4 separate regions of the Homo sapiens genome follow, and all the other regions are linked to region 3. Evidence: promoter capture Hi-C in 16 types of primary human blood cells and fetal thymus (Javierre and others, 2016). All regions are on one chromosome and are shown on one strand. Each heading gives the region's core, a stretch centred on a gene start or on the middle of the fragment in contact. The rest is flanking DNA. Distances are from core to core; before and after follow the strand shown. Region 1 holds the start of CCDC110 (coiled-coil domain containing 110). Region 2 overlaps CASP3 (caspase 3). Region 3 holds the start of ING2 (inhibitor of growth family member 2). Region 4 overlaps CFAP97 (cilia and flagella associated protein 97).

What was found. The method cuts DNA at HindIII sites, captures the fragments that hold promoters and counts their contacts. A CHiCAGO score of 5 or more calls a contact.
Region 1: the fragment with the promoter of CCDC110 here is called in contact with the fragment with the promoter of ING2 in region 3 in 4 of 17 cell types (total CD4 T cells, non-activated CD4 T cells, naive CD4 T cells and 1 more); the score reaches 10.0 in total CD4 T cells.
Region 2: a fragment that was not itself captured here is called in contact with the fragment with the promoter of ING2 in region 3 in 1 of 17 cell types (naive CD8 T cells); the score reaches 5.7 in naive CD8 T cells.
Region 4: a fragment that was not itself captured here is called in contact with the fragment with the promoter of ING2 in region 3 in 2 of 17 cell types (total B cells and total CD8 T cells); the score reaches 5.6 in total B cells.

The regions. Positions count from the first base shown.
Region 1 is chr4:185,468,833-185,475,201 of GRCh38, reverse strand. It overlaps CCDC110 (coiled-coil domain containing 110), which reads left to right and starts at 3,469. Exons shown (of 7, transcript NM_152775.4): 1 at 3,469-3,528; 2 at 4,153-4,257. The coding sequence starts at 3,519. It overlaps LOC105377590 (a long non-coding RNA gene), which reads right to left and starts at 3,771. Exons shown (of 2, transcript NR_133944.1): 1 at 3,442-3,771; 2 at 2,939-3,087. RefSeq lists a silencer at 3,255-3,884. The HindIII fragment of the contact is 5,122 bases long and covers 1-5,088 here.
Region 2 is chr4:184,641,796-184,647,859 of GRCh38, reverse strand. The region is part of intron 2 of CASP3 (caspase 3); the gene reads left to right. Among named protein-coding and RNA genes, the nearest start is that of CASP3, 4.6 kb to the left of the region's middle. RefSeq lists enhancers at 2,864-3,495, 3,797-4,374, 4,375-4,953. The HindIII fragment of the contact is 2,145 bases long and covers 343-2,487 here.
Region 3 is chr4:183,499,694-183,506,307 of GRCh38, reverse strand. It overlaps ING2 (inhibitor of growth family member 2), which reads right to left and starts at 1,250. Exons shown (of 2, transcript NM_001564.4): 1 at 941-1,250. The coding sequence starts at 1,112. It overlaps ING2-DT (ING2 divergent transcript), which reads left to right and starts at 1,793. Exons shown (of 3, transcript NR_033995.2): 1 at 1,793-2,132. RefSeq lists silencers at 189-908, 1,129-2,168. The HindIII fragment of the contact is 10,965 bases long and covers 1-6,614 here.
Region 4 is chr4:185,179,054-185,186,013 of GRCh38, reverse strand. All of the region lies in intron 2 of CFAP97 (cilia and flagella associated protein 97), which reads left to right. Among named protein-coding and RNA genes, the nearest start is that of CFAP97, 21 kb to the left of the region's middle. The HindIII fragment of the contact is 974 bases long and covers 1,168-2,141 here.

The sequences.
Region 1 (6,369 bases), core at 2,220-4,719, 2.0 Mb before region 3:
CTAGACAACACATTCTACTATCTCTTTAAAATATACATTTTTTCTAATATTTGAGCTACAATAATTGAATCTTTTTCCACTGAAGTGTCAAGTTTTTTCAAAGAAGAACCACAGGAAAAAAAAATTTCAAAAGTGTTTATGGAATCCCACCCTAGACGGGGCTCTAGACCTGCCATTCACTGTCAGCCCCGTATGTGACCACTCTGCTTTCTCCTGGAGTAGGCCCTTCACCTGGGATTTCACTCATCCTCACTACTGGCTCACAGTTGTACAGATAAGGAAACTCCTTTTCAGAGAGGCCCATCATTCGGTCAGCCACGGAGTTCAAAATGCAGGTAGTTTCAAGCGCAGGTGAAAATGGTTTTAAGTGGCCATGGGTGATCAAATAAGATTTCTCCCTCAACATACATTTCACACTGCAGTGAATGTCCCTAAAGGGCTGTGACCACCTCCCACCCCCATTTTTTTAGAGACATGTCAATGCTCTAATTACCACTTCCAGATTCTCCCACCTCGAATACCAGGGTTGGCGCACGCAATGTTCATGTGAGGCCCTTCACGAGGGGGTTCATCTGAGAGGGTGATATTCAAATCATAGGCATCTTTATTATTGAAAACAGTTTTTAAAATATTATAACTGTTGGCTCCAAAGACAGCCTTTTTACATATTAATTGCAATAATTTTCTGACAAAATTTTTGTTTTAACTGAGAATATATATGTGATGTGCTTTACAAAAGAGAAATGAGTGTGATAATCAAAAGGCCTTATAGGACATCTAAAATAAAGTGTCCTTCTAACTAAAGAGCTGCTTTTCTGACTGATGAATGGATTAGGAAGTAGCTTAAAATGGAAGTAACTCTCTATTGAGATTAGTGCACTGGCTAAATCTGAGTTTGATGTTGTAGCATCTATCACCTGCTTTTTATATTCTACACTAAATGGTATGACTGAGTGCTCCCACAAAAATCCACAAGTAATTTCTATGTAATAACCGATATTAATTTGTCATCATAGTCCACAAATATTACATAGACAAATTAGAGTTATTACACATTATTACATAAATTATCAAATGATTAGATATTAATAATTAGCATTACATAAAATACAATATAGTAATTAATTGTGGAAACTTCAGTAGTATAAAAACAGACTTGCTAAAATGTAGTGGCTTTTTGTCATTCACCCTTTGAAGGAATGCAATTTATTTACAGTAGTAATTTCACAAACATATTGCTGAAAACTTGTGTAGCTCTCAGGAAAAAAATTAACTTTATCAATGAAGCAGCCTCATTGTGTGGGCTGACACCAAGGTTTGCTGTCTCACAGGGAGATCAAGGATGCAGACACACAAAGAGTGAGGTTAAGAGCCGAAATGTAATAGGCGACAAGAAAGGGAATAAGCTCTCCGCTACAGAAAGGGGTCCCCGGGTTGCCAATTCGCTGTGAAATATTTTTTATAGAATTTTATAGATGAGCTAATGGGGAGGCAGTCTGATCTACATAGGGCGTGAAAAACCAGTTAGGACCAGGTGTGCCATCTGCATAGGGCATGAATCTCTGGCAGCCCCCACCCCAATCTTTTACTACGCAGGTGGGTTCTCTGACTGAGCTTTTCCATATCGCCCATCTCTTTCTTACTGTACACGTGCTAACAAAAAAGGGGAGATGGAGATTCCATGGTGGACATGCCTGGCCCCCAGGTAGCCCTTTTCTATCAGCGCAGCTGCTGGCATCCACCCGCACGCTGCCCCCCAACCCCCTGCGCCCTGGTGTGCACGCTTCCAGCTTCCTGATCTATCTTTGCAAGGTTTGCAGGCTTTCAGGCTGCTCTTTGTTAGAAAAAAAAATGATTTCTTGAGCTGTTTTTTGTTAGAAGTTCTGCTGAAGACTCTTTTGCCCTATCTGCCTAAATAATTTCTATCTCCTGAATCATCAATATCAATCAGCAATGCAGACCATAAATTCTCAAAATTATAATTTATTAAAATTGTCTACAATGCCACAAGAAAGTCAAATCTTCTAGAGCCCATTTTTTTCTTTCTTTCTTTCTTTTTTTTTTTTTTTTTTTTGAGACAGAGTGTCGCTCTGTGGCCCAGGCTGGAGTGCAGTTGCACTATGTCGACTCACTGCAGCCTCTGCCTCCTGGGTTCAAGTGATTCTCCTGCCTCAGCCTCCCGAGTAGCTGGGATTACGAATGTACTCCACCATACCTGGCTAATTTTGGTATTTTTAGTAGAGACAAGGTTTCACCATGTTGGTCAGGCTGGTCTCGGACTCCTGACCTCAGGTGATCCACCCGCCTCGGCCTCCCAAAGTGCTGGGATTACAGGTGTGAGCCATCATGCCGGACCTAGAGCCCATTTCTTTTCTTTTTTTTTTTTTTGTTTGTTTTTTTTTGTTTTTTTGAGACGGAGTCTGGCTCTGTTGCCCAGGCTGGAGCACAGTGGCGCCATCTCGGCTCACTGCAACCTCCGCCTCCTGGGTTCAAGCGATTCTCCTGCCTCAGCCTCCTGAGTAGCTGAGATTACAGGCGCGTGCACTAGAGCCCATTTCTATAAGAAACAAATTAGAGGAAGTAAGCACTGAAACTATCATAAGAAGTTTCATTTCAATGAAAGCAAGCCATCATGTATTACTTATTATATATTATATGTTATTATATAGCAAATTATGATATCCTGGTGATTGTGATTTTGAATTTTAATTTTCTATGTGTGATGGTTTACTACAAAATAAATAATATATACTCGTTTAAAACTTTAAAGAGCACCATTTTCTGATGGGCAGGAGGATTAGCTGGGGGCACGCACCCAGTCCTTGGTTAAAGGAGGTCAGGTTTCCCGTGAACGCAACATCAATCCTGCACGTGATACACCAGGTGCGTAAAAATTAACATGCTTAGACAAAGGAAGCCCACCGTCGCTTCCCACAGCTTTCATGAGCATATTTTAATACATGTTTAGGTTAATTCATTATTGAAAAATAGGAGTCTTCTTTTCATTGCAGCAAACAAAAGTCCTTTCACAATATTGGTCATGGGCCGTTCAAATCCCCAAATGCTGAAACTCCTCTGAGGGATGCGCTGAAATGAGAGGACTAAGAATTAAAAAAAAAAAACAACAGCGATGAAGTGGAGATGTGGAAAGGCAAAGGGAAAGCTCTCAGGCGTGTGTCCGTCCCCGGGCGGTCCCTTTCTCCGCACCGCTTTGGTCCGGCGGGTACCGCAGCGAGTCCGAGTGTGAGCAAGCCCGTCCCGGACAGCCGCGCGCGTGTGCGGGGAGGCGCCCAGGTGGGCTGTCCCAGGCCAGGTTCCCAGGGAAGCTCTCGGGGAAGCGTCCGGAGTGAGGAGGGACCCACCGGGACCCCACCAGGGACCCCAGCCGAGCGCGCGCCGCCGAGGGTGGGGGTGGGGCCGGCGCCCCGGCCACCCGGTTACCTGGCGACAGGATGCCCTGCGCGGGGCGGCGGAGCGGGTGCGTGCGGCGGCGGTTGCGAGAGAGATGAGCCGCGGCGATGAGCCCGGGTAAGAGTTGGACGGGGCGGGGCTCCTAGGGGAGCCGCGGGAACGGAGGGCAGCAGAAGGGCATTCAGCAGGCGGCTCCCCGCTCGAAAACCCGGGACATCCCGGGTCCGCCCTTCTGCACTCGCCGCACATCTCCCGCTCGGCCCTAGGGCTGAGCACCCGCTGCGGCCCCCTGCGTCCGCTGTGGCTTACAGGCTGGCTACGTGGTCTGCCGCCGCCGCCCGCCCAGCGCGCCCTCGGGTGGCCGCTTGCGGAAAGCGCCGCGCCCCGCCCCAGGCCCGGCCTGATGCCGTCCCTCCGCCCCATCCCTCCGCCCCGCCCCAGCCTTCAGCCTTGACCCCGCCCCATTCCTCTGCCCCCACAGGTCCCGCCCAGTCTCTCCGCCCCATCCCATCCCTGCGCCCCGCCCCAGCCTTCAAACCCGCCCCCTCCTAATTCCCTCCGCCCCGCCCTCCCCGCCCTCCCCGCCCCCCCGCCCCAGCCTTCAGCCCCGCCCCCTCCTAATTCCCTCCGCCCCGCCCCAGCCGTTAGCCCTGCCCCGCCCCATCCCTCTGCCCCGCCCCCACCTTCAGCCCCGCCACGCCACGACCCGCGACAGAACAGCCCCGGACGGTTCTGTTACAGAAAAGCAGCACCGGGAAGAGGATGAAGTTGACTCCGTTCTCCTTTCAGCGTCCAAGATCCTAAATTCTTCGGAGGGGGTGAAGGAAAGTGGCTGCAGTGACACAGGTAAAATCGCCAGACCGTAAAAGGCTCCTTTAACTATACACAGGCGGCAGCATCTGGCCTGTGCCACCTGCTCACCTGGCGTGCTTCCCACGGCCGTGATGACACGGACAGCAGCCACCACGGCACTCGCGCTTTGTGCCAGTGCTGTTCTAAGCACGTAATGGATCAACTGTTTAATTCTCACAACACTTTTACGAGGTGGGTGCTACCACGATCCCCATTTTGCAGATAAGGAAACGGGCACAGAGAGGTTAACTCCCTAAGGTCACACAGGCAGCGAGGAATGGAGCGGGCATTCAGCAGGGCGGCTCCGGACTGCCTGTCTTCACCACCACGCTACGCTCCGTTGCTTCTCTGAATGCTAAGTAAGAATTGTTGAGTTTTTTGGACACACACTAAAACGATATGCAGTCAGCCCTCGGTATCTGGGAGTTCCGCATCCTTGGATTCAACCAACCACAGATGGAAAATATTCAGGGGGGAAAATTTTTAAAAATAACAGTACCACAATTTTTAAATGCAAATTTTGAACAGTATAACAGCCATTTACATAGCATTTACATTGTATAAGGTATTACAAGTAATCGAGAGATGATTTAAAGTATACAGCAGGATACACATAGAAGCTATGCAAATACTACCCCATTTTGTATTAGGGACTTGGGCATCTGCAGATTTTGCTATCCGCAGAGGCTCTGGAACCAATCCCCTGTGGATATCCAGGGAGGGGTGTATACCTTTTCTAAAGAAAACTACTTTTTATAGTAAATATTTACGGACTACAGGATATTATATGGGGAGGATGTTTGAAATAGCCACATAGCTAAAGCTTTCAAGCACCACATAAATTATGAATAAGATGGGGGTACCCAGCTAGGGGAATCTGAGGACATTGAAGGTGGAGTCCCAGGCGACTGACTACACGCCTCTCAGAGGAGCCTGCTGTGAGGGGACATGCCGGGGAAGGAGCAGAGCACGGGGCAGGAGAAGGGTCTAGACTGATGTGCCATGCCCGGACCCCCAGTTGCCCCTCTGTAGGATATGGGCAATCCTGATGCCAAAGTGCTGAACCACAAGAGGACTGAGGTTGGGACAGGATTTCTGCACCTCCACCATGCAAGATCTTCACAAAAAGCCTTGTCAGGGCCCGGAAAGAAGAGACTAGAGCAGCCACACCTCAGTAGACAGAAGACACCCGGGTGCCCAGGCACTACCAGGATGAGCAACACCCCAGTGGAGGCCAGCAGGACAGGCACTGGCCAGTCCCCTCTCCGCCCTCCTGCCTCCACCCTTGAGATATGCAGGTTTCCCTGGGCAACCAGGAGGGGCAAAGGGGCCCCCTGAACGAAGGAGAAAGAGTCCTCACAGAGAGTTGAGACATTGAGGTAGCTCCGTATTTACCTCAAAGAGAGCATGTAAGGTCAGAAGAAATAGAAGTACCTTAATTTGGCAAGATCACATGTTTTTTGACATGAATGAGGCTTAGGGTTCTGGAGAAAGATGCCAACATTTATAGAAAATAGTTACATGCAAAATAGCACATGTACATGTTTAAGAGTTACAGTCTTTCTTGCCAGAACACAGTGTTTACAGGTCTGGGGTTGACACAGGACAGGTTCTTAATAAACACCAGTTATCTTGAGTCAGGGGCCACCCAGGAATTTCCTGCCTGCAACTATAGGCAAAACTAGGAGGTATGGCTGGCGCCCTTCTCTCTACTCTCCTACTGATGCTTTCATTGTCACCAAGTGATCCATTCCCCGTGTACTGAGAAAATAATGACCTGATTTGCATAACTACTGCCAGGTTACAAAGAGTTATAGAATGTTCCCAAGGTGTCTCTGATTTCAGAACTAGTGGTTAACCTAATTAACCCTTATTGGAATGGGTTTGTGAGAGACTTTTGAATTTGAGGGTGTCCAGGGTGTTGTTCCCAGCACCCTGTTGTACCCGAGCTTTCATTCATTCATTCGTTTGTGGAGCATATTCTTTTGAGCACCTGCTAAGTTTCAAGTGCTGTTCTAGGTGCTGGGGATCCAACAGTGAACAAGACTTGCAAGATTCCCTGCCCACATGGAGCTTACCTTCTAGTGAGGGAACAGACAGACAAAG
Region 2 (6,064 bases), core at 166-2,665, 1.1 Mb before region 3:
TGCAAGCAAACTCCAGGAGGGACGGACTTGGTTTATCTTGGTATCCTTAGTGTCTTGCCCCAAATGCGGGGCCTGGCATAACACAGTGAATGCCCATCCATTGTATTTTTACTTTTATGCCCTATCTAGAAAAAGTAGACCTGGTTTAGGATTATTCAGCAAATAATAATTAGAAAAGAAATGGTAGAGGTGACATACGGAGTCACTGAAACGATGTAAACCTGCAAGATAGCTGAAAGAGGGCCAGGCAAGGTGGTTAGACCAGACTGTATCAAAATGGGCTCAGCCACTGTGAATGTGCGTGCTGTGGTTACATAATCTCTAAAAATGAAATATAAAGCTTAAATCATCTCTATCACAGCCCGATGCTTGGACTTTGGTTTTGCTTTGCCTTTTTGCAAAAGAAGGTTTTTGAAAGTGAAAATTATTTTAGTGAATGGATGAACAGTTTATTGGAGTATGGCAATAAAACCTGTTCAAAGTAAGAGACATTAGACATTGTACCTAGTTAAATCAGATTTGCTTTTGCTATCCTGAATAAAGGCCTTGCCTCTTGCCATTTGAAGAGACTGGCATCTGATATAGGCAATTATAATGCTTCTTTACTGTTTTGTTTTCAAACCTCGTTTAACACAATCTCCTACTGCTTCATCCCCCTACAAAGCAGTCTTTATTTTGATGAATGATATATTACATTGCTTCTGGTGCCTACTATTAGATCTTTAAGCTCTGCCCCAAAGATAAGAAGCACTGGTGTTTGGGCCTAAACAAAGATGGGAGAATTCTTAGATTTATATAATATTCTTTCTCTGCATGTTTTGTTCTTACCTTCACATGTTGCCTGTAGAGCTTCTTTGCATTACAATAATGAAATCAAGCTACCTGATATGTATTGGACACGGTCTGGCATCTGCCTTGTTGAGCCACTTTTGAATACCAGTGAGCATCGGTATAAGCCCTGAATAGAGATAGGGTTTGTCTCTTCCACTGCTTGATACACTCAGGGTCTAGTATAGTACTCTGCACACAGTTGGTGTTCAGTAAATTGTTATGGTGCAAATATCAAATGAATAAATGCTACTGAATCTGAGTTTTGGCAGTTTCAGTCTTCCTGACAGCAGGATTTCTTCAAGCGGTTTTAAACTTGAATCTGATTCTGCAAAGTAGTCATCCTTGGTGGGAGTGCTGAGGCTTTAAAGTCATCTGTAATTTTTATAAAAAGGCATCCGAGATCCTCCATTTTACACTTATATCATACAAATCATTTAGATCTGTGAAGGCTTTCCCATTTTCTCCTTTTGTCCTTCCAAAAACACCATCTTAGGACTTCACCTGGCACAGGGAAGACAGATCGTTTGCACATACTAAGTGCCCTTCTTTCTAACTTGTGTCATAAACTCAGAGGCTTTGAATAGTGGAGAGTGCTCTGTACTGTCTTCCTGGTCACGTGGCCCTTGCCAGAGGAAAGGAAAGGATGGTTTGTTTGTATAGTACAATGGAACTTATTTCAATGTATTCTGTATTTGATTTTACATTCCTGTTCTCATATTTTTACCTTAATTACATAACAAATATTAAAAGATTGACTTCACCAGGCCCAGTTACAATCGCCAGTTTGATAATTCTTATACGTACTCAAATGAATTCAGAGACCAGATGGGAAAAGATTTTGATAAAACCTCTGGTACATCACAACTGAAGTCTTTTCTTGTCCAAACTATTGTGAAACAGATGTTCTTTCTGTTTCATTTGCTAAATCTGGAAACGTGACTGCTTTTGAGACTTTGTCCTCTCTGACAGGTAATAAATATAATCCTGATATTTTTCAAGTTGTTTGACAGAAGTGTAATCTCCCCAGAAGTCCTGCTGGACAGGCTTCACTTTTCCTTTGGAGGAACACAGAGATACAGGGAATATGTTTTAATGACATATACCTAACGCTGAACATGAAACCAGTTATTTTACTTTTATTATTATTATTTTTAGAAACAGCCTTGCTGTGTCACCCAAGCTCAAGTGCAGTGGTGCGATCATAGCTCACTGCAGCCTCCAATTCCTATGCTCAAGTAATCCTCTTGCCTCAGCCTCCTGAGTAGCTGGGACTACAGGTGTGTGCCACCATGCCAGGCTACTTGTTTTTACTTTGTTATAGAGATGGGGTCTCTCTGTGTTGCCCAGACTGGTCTTGAACACATGATCTCAACCATTCCTCCCACCTTGGCCTCCCAAAGTGCTGGGATTACAGGCGCGAGCCACTGTGTCTGGCCTATTTCACTTTAGAAGTAAATTGAATGCCACATGCGAAGTTTGTTAAATTTTTTTAAAAAAGGAAAGAAAACACAAAAGTAAACTACCTAGTCGCATCAGAAATGCCATAGTCATTTTTGCCATTTTTTCATTCATTAGAATTCAGTGCATTATGTTATTTTGTTATCTCTGCAGTAACTTTCTATCATGTTATTTATTTTCTTTGTCTTATTTAAAGCTTCTGAGATTATGGATTTTTGTTTCCTTCCCTGAAGTTAAGTGTTATCATTCCTATATAGTACTAAGCTGTCTACAGAATAGTGGGAGTCTGCCCTCTTGAGTTGGGAAGATCCTAGTTTGAATCTTGGCTGTGCGACTTTAAAGTTCATTAACTTCTCTTAGCCTCAGTCACCTGAACTCTGCAGTGGGGATCCTTATGCCTCAGAGTGTCATTGGGAGGACTCACGAAAATACGCTTGTACTTTGAGTTCAGTACCTAGCCTGTATGAGCCAGCATTAAGAGGGACAGTCATCACGCAGCGCTTTGCACACAGCTCTCACGCCACATCCTTTGGCTACTGTTTTGGTAAATCTTTACTAGTAAATGTTTCTTAAAAGCATTTACATTCATGGACATGATTCAGAAACTAACAGTTGTTTTTTAGGTCTCACTTTGAGATTTAAAAACCCTTAGGGCAGAGACCAGATTTTATTTCTTACCTCAGAGTTTCCCTGTAGGACAGGAACCAGCAACAGCCTAATGAGCTGATTAAGAATTTTAGAGATTTAAAATTTAAATTAGGATTGCCAGTTTTAGAGACTGGCACATAAATGTTTTCATTTAAGGCAGTGACTGTTTCCTTTAGGATATGATTTTTTATCTTTCTAAGATGAGATCACCATCCTCAGAATAATTTGTACCCCGCTGGGCACTAGCTAATGGAGGTGATGTCATGCTAAGCAGCACTTCAGTGAGTTTTGCGGGAACCAAAGCTCTGCTCCCAGGAGTGTGGATTTGGTGCTTTCATGTGGAAAAAGCGGATGATGACAAGTAGAGAGCAAATGTGCGCATGTCTGATGCTGTAAGGATTTCCTTTACCATCATATAAATTTTTAAAGTATATCAAAATAAACTGATAACTGAGAAAATATATGTTGTTCAGATACTAATAATGAAGTTAATGAAGTCCACTATAGTATTTGTCCCTGAGAAATCTTTATCAAATATTTTAAATCCTATTGTAAAATAATGTATTTTTTCTTTCAGTTTTAGAGACTGGCAATCCTAATTTAACATCTCCTTTTGAATTCCCCACCACAGGCACACTTTCACACATTCACTCTTTAATAACAGGTTGTTTCAAATTGTTAATACTTTATAGCTTAATATAGAAATTTCACTTTAGAAATTAATTTTTATTTCTCTGCCTTAATGCTATAGATGTTGTAGTCTGCTTTACTTCAGTATTGTAATGAGTAGTTGGCTAACCACCATGTAAATAGGGAGAACATTCTAGTTTTTTACTTGTGTAGGAAAACACAGCTTGAAATGTCTAAGTATCTATTTTAGAGTGAAGTAAATTTATACTGACAATATTTTTTTGTGTTTGAAGACCTGACTGTTACAGCGTTGGTGGCAAGTGTTAAGGGATCCAGGAACTAGACAAGTGATTCTGAGACCTGAGTTCCAGGTTTCTAAGTAATATCAGTTGGTCTACTGAGAACTTTGCCATAAACATATGTGTTCAGAAATTTCCTTTCTTAGCAGCAGCATCCTGAATTGAACAGAATTACACACACATCAGCCCAGTAAGAAACAATTCATGTTAAGTCCATTGCTATGCCAGGATAAATCTTTTAAATCACAATTATTTTTCCTATTTATATTTTGTCAAATAAGAATGTTCTAAAAACCAAAATTTCTGTTTTCTTTTTTTTTTTTTTTTTTTTTTGAGACGGAGTCTCACTCTGTCGCCCAGGCTGGAGTGCAGTGGCGCGATCTCGGCTCACGGCAAGCTCCACCTCCCGGGTTCACGCCATTCTCCTGCCTCAGCCTCCTGAGTAGCTGGGACTACAGGCACCCACCACCACGCCTGGCTAATTTTTTATATTTTTAGTAGAGACGGGGTTTCACCGTGTTAGCCAGGATGGTCTTGATCTCCCGAACTTGTGATCCGCCCGCCTCGGCCTCCCAAAGTGCTGGGATTACAGGCAAAATTTCTGTTTTCATTTAAGGCAGTGACTATTTCCCTTAGGATGTGATTTTTTTATCCTTCTAAGATGAGATCACCATCCTCAGAATAATTTGTACCCTGCTGGGCACTAGCTAATGGAGGTGATGTCATGCTAAGCAGCACTTCAGTGAGTTTTGCGGGAACCAAAGCTCTGCTCCCAGGAGTGTGGATTTGGTGCTTTCATGTGGAAAAAGCGGATGATGACAAGTAGAGAGCAAATGTGCGCATGTCTGATGCTGTAAGGATTTCATCTACCATCATATAAATTTTTAGAAGTATATCAAAATAAACTGATAACTGAGGCAATGTATGTTGTTCAGATACTAATAATGAAGTTAATGAAGTCCACTATAGTATTTGTATAGTATTTGTATATTACAGTACTCTGAAAAGCTGGTCACTATTTAAAGTTTCCATTACCAGTCACAAGGAGAGAATAATTTTATCCCACAATTTTATTGCTGGCAAAAGACACAAGTTTATTAAAAGTCAGTATTTCAGTGTAAGAGTTACTAGACTGTTTGCAGAAGTGTTCAAAAGAGATCTTTAGGTCCTTGGTTGTCTGTGGAAGCTGATCAGCATTTAGGGGTTCCTGAGCACAGACTGTGAACCCTGCATTTGGCACATGCATTCAGAGAGCCAATTTGAGGCAGACTGGGGGCTAGAAAGGATACTGCCAGGAGCTCCAGGTTCAGCTTCCGAAGTTATTAAGTCTTATTTCCCAGTTTTTAAATTAGACTTCATTTTTTAGAGCAGTTTTAGGTTCAAACCAAAATTGAGAAGAACGTACAGAGACATCCTGTATCCCACCTGCCCCCCAACACGTGCGTAGTCTCCCCCATTATCAACATCCTGCACCAGAGTAGTACATTCTTACAAAGGAACCTACACTGACACGTCATCATCACCCAAACGCCATCGTTCACAATCAAGTTCACTCTTGGTGCTGTTTATCCTATGGTTTTGGACAAATTTACAAGGACTTGTATCCACCATTATATTGTCACACTGAGTAGTTTCACTGCCTTAAAAAGTCTCCGTGCGGGCCGGGCACGGTGGCTCACGCCTGTAATCCCAGCACTTTGGGAGGCCAAGGCGGGCAGATCACGAGGTTAGGAGTTCGAGACCAGCCTGGCCAACATGGTGAAACCCCGTCTCTACTAAAAATACAAAAATTAGCCTGGCATGGTGGCATGCGCCTGTAATCCCAGCTACTCAGGAGGCTGAGGCAGGAGAATCGCTTGAAACCTAAAGGCGGAGGTTGCAGTGAGCCGAGACCACGCCACTGCACTCCAGCCTGAGCAAGGAGCGAAATTCCATCTCAAAACAAAAAAAAAAAAAAAAAAAAATTCTCTGTGCTGTCTCCCTCCCTCCTAGCCACTGGCAACCACTGATCTTTTTACTGTCTCCATAGTTTTGCCTTTTCCAGATTGTCAGATAGTTGGAATCATGCGGTATATATGGCCTTTTCAAACTGGCTTCTTTCACTTAGTAATAATGCATTTAAAGTGTTCATGGCTTGCTAGCTCATTTCTTTTTAGTGCTCAGTAATATTCTGTTCTCTGGATATACCACGGTTTATT
Region 3 (6,614 bases), core at 1-2,500:
ATCCGCGACGGTCCGAGCTGCTGATCGCCGTCCTGATCCATTGACTGGGAAAGAGGTTGGAAACATCACCGCAAAACATGCTGCAAACCCCGATTCGGACTCCGCTGGGGCCGAACCAACGCCCCCGCACAGCCCCGACTCCCTCCCCAGCAGCCAGCTCGCCACCGCCCCTCTCGCGACCAGCCATTTTCCAGGCCCGCGGGAACGCGCGCCGCGCCCCTCCCACGCCCCTCGTCAAGCCCGCAGGCCCCGCCCCCGGCGCGGGGGCCCTCCCCGCCACACACGCCCCTCTCTTCCTCTCCCGCGGGGGACCCCTCCCCTCTTAACCATTTTGCCGAAAGAACTGGGCTAGGGCTACAACGCGGGGCGCCCGCGAACTTTCCCGGGGCGAGAGAGCGGAACGGACTGCTCTCCTCCGGGCCGGGGCAGGAGCGCGGAGGAAGGCCCCCTCAGTCCGCCTCCGCGGCCTCTCGCCCCCTCCCCCCGCACGTTCCAAAGCACCCGCACTCCGGGGTGGGGGCGAGTGAGGTGGGGAAGCGCGCCCCGCAGACCAGCGGGAGCCCGGCCGCTCACTCCCTCCGACCCTTGCCCGGCTGCAGTCCCGGGCCGGGGCCGCAGGGTCTGCGGCACGGGGCGGGCCAGCGCCTGAACAAATGCTTGCTGCTTAAAATGGCTGATTCCCCTCAGCGGCAGCTGCAGCCGCTGGGTCTGCAGCGGGGGCTGACAAGCGGCCCCCACCCCCACTCTGGGGACCCCAGAGAAGTACTCGCCCACCGCGGGGCCACGGAGGGCCGCCAACCCGGTCTCCAGTCCTCCCAGTCCCGCTCGGCAGACCCTCGGTGCGCTCGGGGAGACTGTCACGGGAGAAAGGGAAGGTGGCACTCCCCCGGACAGGCTCCCCGCCACCGGCTCCCGAGGCCGGCAGCCCCGCGGCTCCTACCTTGATATTTGTTGTCCAGCTCTCGCAGCACAGACACGTTCCTCTGCATGTCGTGGGGCAGCGACTCCACGCACTCAAGGTAGTCCTGCACGTAGCAGGTGAGCAGCCGGCTCCGCTCCCCGGTCAGGAGCGCGGCCGACGAGTACAGTTGCTGCTGCTGCTGCCCTAACATCCTGCCGATCCGCGCCGTCGCCGCCGCCTCCGCATCCAGCAGCCGCACATGCACCGGCCGCGGCCGCCGCGGGCCCTCAGCTCAGCAGCCCGGCGCCGCGGGGACCCCGCAGCCGCTCGAGAGGGCACGGCCGCGCTCCCCGATCTCCACTCCCCCCAGAGCAGCCCTCACTCCCCGCCCCCGCAGCACCAGCCCAGGGGCGGGGCGAAACCGGGGCTCCCTCCTTTCTCCCCTCCCGCTCCAGGACCGGAGCAGTGGGGATCCCCTCGGCGGGGCCGGCGCCGGGGTCCCGGGCGCTGACACTTCCTGTCCCCCTCGGAGTCCCCAGATGCTACGAGTGCCGTCTCGCAGCCCGGATCCCCATGACAAGCCCGTCGCCGCCCGCCTGTCCCCAGTCACCCTCCGTGCCTCACGGAGAGCCTCCCGCTAGCCTGCCCCCGCCCCTCCGCCCGCGGCCGCCTCTGCGCCTGCGCAGCGCTCCCTGCGAATAAGGCCGGGGCCCGCCCCTACCGCCTACCGGAGGGTTCGCATTCTCCCGCCTTCGCTCCGCCGCCCGGGCGATTGGTCTGCCGGCTCTGGGCTAGCGGGGGAGGGTGTGGGGGGCGGCCAAACGGCAGGCCGCGCCCCGCCCCCCTTAAAGGGGAAGCCCGGGGAGCCAGTCTCTGCGCCTCGCGTCTGAATGGGACCCGGGAGGGGAGGCGGCTCGGTCCTTCGTGCCGTCCTCCCCGCTGGGAGGGGCAGCTCCAGCTCCGCTCGGCTCGCTCCGCCCGGCCACACCGGCTTTTTCCCCATCAGGCGGTCCGAGTGCGGCTCCTCGCGAGCCTGCAAAGGAGCAGCAGGCGGTTCCTTTTCGGACGACCTGGAGCGAGGCCTGCGGGACTGCGCGCCCCGGCGGGCGGCGTGCGGCTCCCGGCATGCGCGGCGGCTGCGTTCCCGCCGCCTCCGAGCTCGCCTGGGGCTGCCGCCCGCCTCCTGCCGGGCCCTCGGGCTCGCCCGGCACCGCGGGGCTTGATCAGGGAGGTAGGCGGTGCTCCCTCCGGCCCCCGGCGTCGTGTGCCCTGCGGGTTTCGTGGCCCTTCCCCTACGCTGGAATCTTCTGTGTCATTTAGGGGGAGGGGATGCGGGACGGCATCTGTTTGACAACGCATTGGTCCCACAGACAGCCTTTAAAAACAACTGCTTTTGGGGGGTGTCAGAACATTTAAGCACAGGACGTCGGTGAGGCTTCCTGGCGGAGTGGGGCACACGCCAGCTTTACGGGACTTTTTGCTCAGTCCTGCCCCAGGACTGCAATCGGAGGGGACCTGGGGCATGGAGGAGACGCGAGTGAAAACCTAGTCAGCGGGCGGGCCCTCGGCCCCATAATCTACGTGATCTCCTAGTGGGGTTTAATTTCGGTGTAGTGTAAATGAGATGTCAGGCAGAGGAGCTGATTTTAATTACAGATGGACATTTTTGAAAGAAATGGGTGCAAATAGAATGAATGCATGGATAATTTTAATGGAATGCCTATGTAAACAAGGCCAATTGTGAGTACTACCTTTGAGTTAAAATGTGAGTGAGTGGTGACAAATTTGGATCTTCTTAGATCCAGTTTGCAGCGTTGGTACACCTGAATGGTGACCTATTTAGAGCACTTTTGAAACAGCTGTTAATAGTAACTAGCCTTTGACTTGCAAAGAGAAATCTAGATCTTTATCTAGAGGAAATTTTAAATTTCAAACCAAAATAAAGCACTCCAGGCAATTTGACATCTTGGGACGTCAACTATTTCAAAGGACTGGGAAATTGTCTTGGGTTATTATCCTAGGACACTGAGGTTTGGGCCAGTATTAAGCAACCCAGACAGTACAGTGGATAGTATTTCTGAGAACATTCTGGGATTTTACTGTTCGTGAAATCTTTCGGCCGGGTCTTGTCAAAAAACCGCCACTGTGAAGAACTGAATTTTACTGGTTTTTACTTGAACCCTGCTATTTTTGTTTTCTCACAAGTTTGAATAAGCTGGTCTTTATCAAAGGCGCAAAATAATGTGGGGTGCCTTGTTACAGGTCAGACACCGAATGTACCTATGGATTTTATTCAGTCTGATAAGTGATCTGCAAGTAGATAAGAAATGTGTTTAGAAACTAGAAGGGGAAAAAGGCAAAGATGCAGAATACCTAGAGTACTCCAGAAACAGAGCAAGATGAGAGGAGGGATGAGCATGGGATAGGAGACATTTATAGCATTATTGTCACCTTTTATAATTCTGTTGAACAGGCTGGTAAAAAAGCAAAAACAATCCAAAGAATATTTTAGCTGGTACTGATCTAAAACTGTAAAACACTGTAATATGATAATATATGTATATGTATGAATTATTTTAGGCATGCTTTTCTTGCTATATTTATTTTAAGAGATTAATCTACGGCTTATTCTTGCCACCCCCAAAAAAAATCGCCACAAACCCTAAACCCAACTCTTGACCTTGGTTATTGAGCGCTGTCCTTCCCTTCTGAGTGGTCACTTAACTGGAAATATGGGGCCTCTTCAGATTGAATTTCTTGTCTTCTAAATGCAAAATTTAAAATCTCCCGTTCTCAGCAACTAGAAATTAATTTATGGTATTTAATCCTGTGAATAAAGCAAAAAGGCATTTTATTTGCTCTACAGTGTATTATCTACCATAAAGCAACCCTAAAAAAAAGATAAGTAACTGATCTCCCCAAATTAGTCTGGGATTACCTTGAATTTCTAAGTCTGACTTTAAGAGGTCCCTGGCAGGAAATGTGTACGCCTCCGTACCTGTCTCTTGGGGAGAGCAACAACTTCAAACTGGTTGAAAACAAACTGGCAAGTAATGGTGAAAGATTCCTAAAGATGCCTGCTGAGAAAATTCAGCTTCTGTTTGAGTCAGATCAAATAAATGAAATCCTTTTCTTTTTTCTACTTTTTAATATTTTTAAACTTTTATGGAAATTTTCAAAGGCAAAAGTAATACTACAATAAATCCTTATATACCGTCTACCCAGCTTCAACATTTAGCAACATATGGCTAAGATTATTTAATCTATAGCCCTTCACATTCCCTCACTCTTGCTGGATTTTTATCATTTTATCTGTAAATACTTTAAATATGAATAATATGAATAGGTAAAATATAATAGTTGTTTTTTGTTTGTTTGTTTTTGAGACTGAGACTTGCTTTTGTCGCCCAGGCTGGAGTGCAATGGGGCGATCTTGGCTCTTTGCAACCTCCGCCTCCCAGGTTCAAGCGATTCTCCTGCTTCAGCCTCCCAAGTAGCTGAGATTACAGGTATGTGTCACCATGCCCAGCTAATTTTTGTATTTTTAGTAGAGAGGGGGTTTCACCATGTTGGTTAAAGCTGGTGTGGAACTCCTGACCTCCAGAGATCCGCCCGCCTTGGCCTGCCAAAGTGCTGGGATTACAGACGTGAGCCACCATGCCTGGCCAAGATAACAGTTTTTTAAGCATATCCGTAATACCATGTATTCTGCCTCCCCAAATTTTCTTACTATCATTTAATAACTACACAATTCAAATTTTCCTATTGTCTCAGTAAATCTTTCACATTTGGTTTAACAGGATCCAGCAAATCCCATGCATTTTATTTGGTTACTGAGGTCTTTTCCAAACCAGTAAGAGGCAGTTAATTCCCTGTTTAATTCAGTGAAGCAGAGAGCAATGTTTTTCTGAGGAAGATATTTAAGTAGTTTAAAATCACTGCTTTAAATATGGAGAAATTCAAGAAGAAATCCTCATATGAAAAGTCACCAATTGATAGCGTGTTGTAAGAAATGTAATTGTACCTGATGCAAATAAATAAATCCTTAGTAATCTAGGAGGCTGTGTTAGAGTGTAATTTGTTCTAGAAGGTCCAGTGAAGCATCTTAAATTATAGTGAAAAACCCTAAAACTTTAAATCAATTCATTAGTACAAAAAGCAACTAAAGAAAAACCTAATAGTCCTGTAATCCCAGCACTTTGGGAGGCCGAGGCGGGCGGATCACGAGGTCAGGAGATCAAGACCATCCTGGCTAACACGGTGAAACCCCGTCTCTACTAAAAATGCAAAAAATCAGCTGGGCGTAGTGGCGGGCACCTGTAGTCCCAGCTACTGGGGAGGCTGAGGCAGGAGAATGGCATGAACCCGGGAGGCGGAGGTTGCAGTGAGCGGAGATCATGCCACTGCACTCCAGCCTGGGCGACAAAGCGAGACTCCGTCTCAAAGAAAAAAAAAAAACAAAACCTAATGGTGTGCGTCTCCACTGAACTCAGTTTTAAAGCATTAAAGCATTTTTTATTACTTTATTACATAAGTAATACACATTATTGTAGAAAAAATTTAAATAGAAATAAAAAGATATATAAAAGTCACTACAAACTGGAGATAACTCTTCTCAATATCTAAATATACTCCAAGATGTAATTCCATTTTAGCAGTTCTTTTGCTTTAAGAAAACACTTTGGCTAGGATTGAAGTACAAAGTTAGGCCAGGTGTGGTGGCTCATGCCTGTAATCCCAGCACTTTGCCACGAGGTGGGCAGATCACCTGAGGCCAGGAGTTCGAGACCAGCCTGACCAATATGATGAAACCCCATCTCTACTAAAAATACAAAAATTAGCCGGGCGTGGTGGCATGTGCCTGTAATCCCAGATACTCAGAGGCTGAGACAGGAGAATCGCTTGAACCCGGAAGGCAGAGATTGCAGTGAGCCAAGATGGTGCCATTGCACTCTCCAGCCTGGGCAGCAAGAGCAAAACTCTGTCTCATTTAAAAAAAAAAAAAAAAAAAAAAAAGGACAAAGTTAAGAAAATATCAGATTCTGTAGAAGGAATATTAGAAATCTGAGCAATATCACCCTGTACTTGGAGTTTATGTGTTAGACTGCACAGATTTAACTGGTGTATACAGTCAATCCTACTGCTTTAGATTATAGTACTATTCAGCATTTAGGATGACTACTAAAAGCAAAATATGATCCTAAAACGTTTTAACGAAGGGACCGTGTGAATGACTGGGATTGTAGTGAAGAGGAAATTCGGTATAATAAGATCTCATATTTTCATAAACAAGAAAAAAGGCAAACGTAATATCCCCTTAGCTATCCCAAAGAGAAAAAATAGCACATATGGTATACTTTGCATATTGCTGACCAGAAAAACATTCAATTTTCCCTGGTTAGTTACCATAGTTACATGAGCCCTTTATAACATCAAGAGGGGGAACTAGGTCACAGTTTTGAAGGAGTTTGAATTATGCAATTATGTTTTCTAAAAGCAGGGGAAAGGGTTTTTAATTTAGAGAAGAGAGATTTATACTCTGTTCAAAATTGAAATTTTGGTCTAATTTTGCTGGCAAAGCCTAAAAATTTGTCCAAAATTTAATAGTTGATATAGTACATATAAATTATTCAACCTATACAAATAACATAATAGCTAGATCCATAAAAATGACATATTCTGTCTTTGTAGATATCCCTTTTTCTCAATGAGC
Region 4 (6,960 bases), core at 405-2,904, 1.7 Mb before region 3:
CCTATGCCTGGTTTTGGAATGTGACATATTGGGTATTTGGAAAATATTGTTTCACTGAGCTTACAAATGTTGGCAGGCCAGGTACAGTGGCTACGCCTGTCATCCCAGCACTTTGGGAGGCAGACGTAGGCAGATCACTTGAGCCCAGGAGTTTGAGACCAGCCTGGGCAACATGGTGAAACCCTGTCTCTACAAAAAATACAAAAATTAGCTAGGCATGGTGGTGTGTGCTACTGTAGTCCCAGCTGCGGGGGGAGGTTGAGATAGGAGGATCTCTTGAGCCAGGGAGTTGGAGGTTGCAGTGAACTGAGATCACGCCACTCCATTCCAACCTAGGAGACAGAGTAAGACCCTGTCTCAAAAAAAAAAAAAAAAAAAAAGGTTGGCAAATTTCAGAATACATTATATAGAAATCATAGTTGTTAATATCACTACCAGCCTCATCAGAAAGCTCTTGAGAAGCTGTCAAACTCATGGTGGCAGATACAAGTTTACCTAAAATACTATTTTTTGCTAAAAAGCTCAAATTTTATTATTGGTAATAAATACTGTCAACTGTTTTCCTTGAAGTGACAGAATTGTTCTTTAAAATTATATTTGTAATGCAAAAATTGGATGGTGGTTGAAATTAAATCATAAAATATCATGAGATAATGCAGATTGCTCACTAATATTGTGTAATAACATATATCTTGATATATTTGCCTTTTTTCTTGTGCATCAAATTTCTATTGCTGCATTGCTCTTCGTTCATAATTCTTACTGTGATTTGTATGTGTTGAACCCATTTCCTGTTCAGAAAAAAAAAAGTACAGCTCACTGCCAGCACTCATTTCTTGGGGCAAATGGGAAACGTGTTAAAAAGTTGCAGCCTATTGTTTGGCATTAAAAAGTATTGTTCTTATAAAATTAGGTTAAAAATGGGTTGAAAAGAGAAATGTTCTAGAAGATAAATTAAAATGTTCAATATGTCTAGTGGGCTTTATTTTTTAAATATGGGCTTGTTTGACTAAATCATAATTTTTATTTTTAAGGGGACACTTCCGTTTTTTAAAATCTTGTAAGTACTATTTGTTCCCACAAATTATAAACCCCACTGTATCCTAGGAAAGAGGATTAAAAAACGAGCATACAAAAGGAAGGTATTGTTTCAGCCAATAAAAAGCTTCTTACAGGAAGAAAACACTCAACTCTTAGAATTGTCAAGTTTTTAAAAACCATCTAATAGAAAATAGTCTGATTTCTGGGCTTTTTGTTCAGAGTCATCAGTGATTATCCAGGATTTTGAATACAAGAAGGGAATTCCGAATGAAACAATATTTCTCATATAACAGGTCACCCAAAGACACGCTAGACTTCAGGGTTGATTGAGTGGCTCAAAACTTCATCAGGGACCTACTTTCTAGCACTGTGTTCCTCCAGCCCTGGTGTTGGCTTCGTTCTTAGGCTGCTAGGAGATGTCTGCAGCCGTTTTCAGTGTTCACCTTCAGACACAACAGTGTCCAGAGGAAGAGACAGTGTCTCTTCTCTGACTCTTGGAATGGAGGAAACTTCTTAAAGAAATTTGGCCCAGTCAACATCCACATAGGTCTCCTTGCCCAGAACTGGTTACGCTCCCATTCCCGAACCAGTCGTTGGTAGGGGAAATGGGATTATCCTGGGCCAAGCAGGCTCACCCTGGAAGTCAGGGATCTGTGAAGTAGGAGGAAAATAGATATACAGTAATTGGGCAGCCAACTTTGTCCAAGAGAGCTTCTCAAACTTCAGTATGCATACGGTTAACCCAGGGATACTGTTAAAATGCAGATTTGGGTTCAGTAAAACTAAGGTAAGAGCTAAATCGGCATTTCTAATCAGCCCCTACTGGTGATACCCGTGCTGCAGATCTAGGGACCATGGTCTGAATATCAAGACACTGAGTAAACTATTTGGTTCCATTGAAAATAAAGCATTCTTCACTCTTCCTGTCTAACCCATTTCTGAAACTTAATTAGATATAGAGAACCTAAATATTTTTAACTTTTAAATAAGAAAAATAATCCTACCCCAAACTCCTGAACAGTTCCCCAATTATAATTAAATTGAAATACTGTTAAAAAGCATTTAACACAGATGCTGAGCTAAAATGTAGAAGGGAAGCTTTATTCATAGTACTGCATAGTAAAGAACCCCTGATAGAAGAGATTTGCCAGTAGGTGGCGCTCAGGGCTTTTTAAGGCGCAGGAACAAACATGGCATTTTGCCAGTTGGTACATCTGTTATTGGAGTCCATAATATAACAATCCACCAAGGATTCTTCATAATAATAAAGCATTTTAAACACTAATTAGGACTGTCAGTCTATTATATAAGGTATTGCAATCATTTTTCAAAATTATCATTCATGCTCGATTTACACAGTGAAGCATTTCAGATCCAAAATTATTTTCCTATGTTTTCTTTATTTTCCACCATATAACTGCAACTGTGGTCATGGTAGGTGGATATGAATGCAGAGCCAGGCTTGTGCCTTTTCTGCATTCATCTCTCAATACACTTTATCACTTCTAACTTACACTAAATAAGCTTTTCTAGGCTGCTTTGGCTTACCTAATTTCTTCACTGCCTTTTCTACTTCCTGGAACATAAATCCACTTAGTATGGGGAGGATGATGGTGAAGACAACATGTGAGCCCATCAGAGCACAGCTGAGGCAGGAATGCAGCATACTCTCTGCATCCTTTCAGTTTAAACATTTTCACGGACTTCAGTACAGAGGTTCGGTAAACCAGTTTACTGCTTAAGGTAGTGAATACTAAGTAAAAAATTTTGCAAGTTAACAGCCATATTAGGTGAGAGTTCAGATAATGAGGGATACCTGTATAGCCAACCACATCAACATTTTATTGGTTTAAAAGAACCTTTTTTTTTTTTTGAGACGGAGTCTTGCTCTGTCACCCAGGCTAGAATGCAGTGGCGCAATCTCAGCTTACTGCAGCCTCCACCTCCCGGGTTCAAGTGACTCTCCTGCCTCAGCCTCCCGAGTAGCTGGGATTACAGGCGGGCACCACCACGCCCAGCTAATTTTTGTATTTTTAGTAGAGACGGGGTTTCACCATGTTGGCCAGGCTGGTCGTGAACTCCTGACCTCAGATGATCCGCCCGTGTCAGCCTCCCAAAGTGCTGGGATTACAGGCATGAGCCACCACGCCCAGCCCGTTTGTTGTTTATGAAATAGAAATTTGAACTATAAAATATTAAGCCTATGAAACAAAGATTGATAAAAGAATGTAAAATTGAATCTACCAGTATAGGGCATGGAATGACGAGACAGTGTTGAACCAAGGTAAAGACAGTTTTGAAAGTGGAATAAAACTTAGGCTTCTGGGTGTTACCGACATGATCACAAACAAGACAGCAACTGTTCTGAGCTTCAGGCACTCTATTTGTAGGAGGAGATTGTTGATATAGGTTGCTAGGGTCCATTCTAACTTCAGAGTTCTTCGGGTTCTGTGAGAAATAGTGGAAGAAGGGAAGACCATTGCATAGTGGCAGTATTAGATACAGGACTTTGAAGTGGATCTTGAAAGATTAGTCGAATTTCTGAATATTCAACCTCTTTTAGCTCAAGGGTGGCTGACTTGGGGAATTTTCCACCTCCATGCAAAGCTGCCTTTGCTATGTAAATGTCAAAAAATGGTTGGAATTAGATCCTTCATCTTGACCTGTAAATCCCTGAATAGGCAGAGAGGGCATTAAAAAAATGGAGTAGTAAACAGAAGTTTAGACATCAAGTTATGGTATGAATCTCACCGATTTGGAGAGCATTGAAGACGTTGACCACACTAGATTTAAAGGTATGTTTCATATTTTGTATAGGTAAAATTAGGTCACTTTAAAAAGAATCTGAAACAGCAAAAATTTAAAATATTTTAGAAATACATGGCCTCAAAATCTACTATATAAACTATGAAATAATCACTACAGGATGTATTTTGAGAAGAAAAATAAATACAAGAAATGGGATTGAAGAAGCATTGATGAGCAAAGAAACTGGTTAAATTTTTTGCTAAAGTGATACCAACGTGTGAGGGATTGAAGTGAAGTGCCTTGTTCAAGGGAAGATACAGACCCTGTTATGCTCCATAAGAAAGGAGATGCCCATACTGAGATTAGCTACCAGCACGTCCTGCCTGGCAGCACATTTTATCCTTTCTTCCTGGCAAACTGCAGGAAATCTCAATGCCCTCAACACACTACCAAGTATTGCCAAACATTTAAGAAAAGCAAAAACCAACAGAGAGGCACCAGACTCATAGCTGAAGAATGTAATACTTCAAACTCTTAAAAGAGCAAGCTTGATGATTTTAGGATCTTTGAGGACAAAACTGTTTTCACTAAGACTATGCCGGCTGGGTGTGGTGGCTCATGCCTATAATCCCAGCACTTTGGGAGGCCGAGGCGGGCGGATCACCTGAGGTCGGGTGTTCGAGACCAGCCTGACCAACATGGAGAAACCCTGTCTCTACTAAAAATACAAAATTAGCCGTGCGTGGTGGCACATGCCTGTAATCCCAGCTACTCGGGAGGCTGAGGCAGGAGAATGGCTTGAACCTGGGAAGCGGAGATTGCAGTGAGCCAAGATCGCGCCATTGCATTCCAGCCTGGGCAACAAGAGCAAAACTCCGTCTCAAAAAAAAAAAAAAAAAAAAAAGTATGATTATGCCTTGATTTGCTTTTTATTTAATTAATTTTTTTTTATTTTTATTTTTTTTGAGACGGAGTCTCGCTCTGTTGCCCATGCTGGAGTGCAGTAGTGCAACCTCCGCCTTCCTGGTTCAAGCAATTCTCGTGCCTCAGCCTCCCCAGTAGCTGGGATTACAGGTGTGTGCCACCATGCCTGGCTAATTTTTGTATTTTTAGAGTATTTTGTCTGCAGACAAAAGTCTGCAGAGACAAGGTTTTAAGCCAGGCATTAAACGACTTGCAAAACAAACTCTGCCACTCGCTGACTTTTTAAAATAAAAATGTTATGTTCACATATAATTGGTTTATTATTTTTAGAGGAATTAATATCTTTAAAACAATTTCTAGCATGGTAACTATTGGTAGATGTAACCCACATACACATTCTTTGGGGTCCTCAGTCTTTAGGGGGGGTGTTAAGGGGTCCTGAGGTTTAGGAGAATGGAACTAGAATAGGTGATTAGACTATTCATAATGCTACAAACTTTTGGAGAAAATCTTAGAGAAAAAAGTTTTTAACTTAGTCAATCTCCCAAAATAGAAAAGAATGAGAAAAAACAGTAACAAAACTTCAGTTAAAGATTACAGGAAAAAAGTACAAAGAATGCAAGTGGGTGGTTGGGTAGTTTTAACTTACCAGAAGATACTATCAGAGCATATTAAAAAAAATACAGAAGTATTACTTAGGCTTAAAAATGAAGGAAATTCTGACATAATGCTACATGGGTGAACCGTGAGGACATTATGCTAAGTGAAATAAGGCAATCTCAAAAAGACAAATAAGTGCTGTATGATTATATGAGATGCTTGGAGTGGTCGAAATTATAGAGACAAAGCTTCCAGAGGCGAAGGGAAGGGAGCAATGGGGAGTCAGAGTTTAATGGATACAGAATTTGTTTTACACAATGGAAGGAGTTTTGGAAACTGGTGGTGGTGATGGTTACACAATATGAATGTATTCGGTACCACTGAACTGTATACTTAAAAATGGTTAACGTGGTAAATTTTGTGTTCCGTGTATTTTGCCACAATAAAAAAATAAAACACTAGCCCTGTCTGATAGGGTTTCTGTTATGCTAAATATGAGTGCTCAGTATATGCCAACAGAATTGGGAAAAAAATAAACAACATTCAGCCTAAAAAGATATTTAAAATAGTATAGGAAGAATGAAAATAAGGGCTAGAAAAATACATGCCAATATCTCCTTTAACAAGGAGAAAGTAAAACTTATCAATCCTATTAATATACAACATAGAACTCAAGATGTGAACATCACTAAAAGAGATAGAGAAGGGTGTTTCACATTAGTAAATGGGTCAAATACACTAAAAAGATAAAATTCATTGATTTGAAATGTATGATAAAGGCAAAATAGAACTGGAAAATAACATTTGGGAAGCCACATCACCATGGAAGCATTGATAATCAATTTAAACCAAATAACAACAAAAACTAGCATCTGCTTGTGGGATGCTCTTGGCCACAGGTATTTTGTCACACAATGCTTTTTTAAAAGTGATGAACTAATCAGCTACTACTGCATGACAGATTACCCCAACACTTAGGGAATAGAGAGACCCAAAGGTAGAGGTGACTCAGTGGCCGGGACTACAGTCAACCCAGTGCTGTGTTTTCACATCAGGTGCCTGGGCTTGGTACAGCCTGAAGGCCAGAACCCAAGGGCCCATGTGGGGTTCTCCATGTGGCCTGGCTTCCTCACGTCTCAGCCATAGGGTAGTTGGACTTCTTACATGGTGGCTCAGGATTCTAAGCACGTGTGTTCCAGGAAACAAGGCAGAAACCTCATTGCCTTTTATGACCTAGCCTCAAAAGTCACATAGCATCATTTCTTTCATGCTCTATTGGTTGAAATGGTCATAAACCCTCCCAGATTTAACGCAAAAGGGCATAAACCTCTACTTCTTAATGGGAGGAGTGTCAAATAATGTAAATTATAATAATCTTTAATTTAAAGATTTTATATCTTAAAATCTCTTCAGTCCAACTTCCGGCCACAGATTTATTAACATTCTTCCCATATGCAAGAATGCATTCGCTCTTTCCACAGATGCCCCTAACTTGAGATCCAGGATGTCAGTCGGGTCCAGCTGCAGCTGAGATTCCTCAGGTGTTGGTTTCTCAGCCATGGCTCTTTGAGTACTTTGAGAATCTCCTGGGAAAGACTAGGGATGAGGAGCAGTTTTACTTTTAAACCCCGTTAAGTCTTGGCTCTT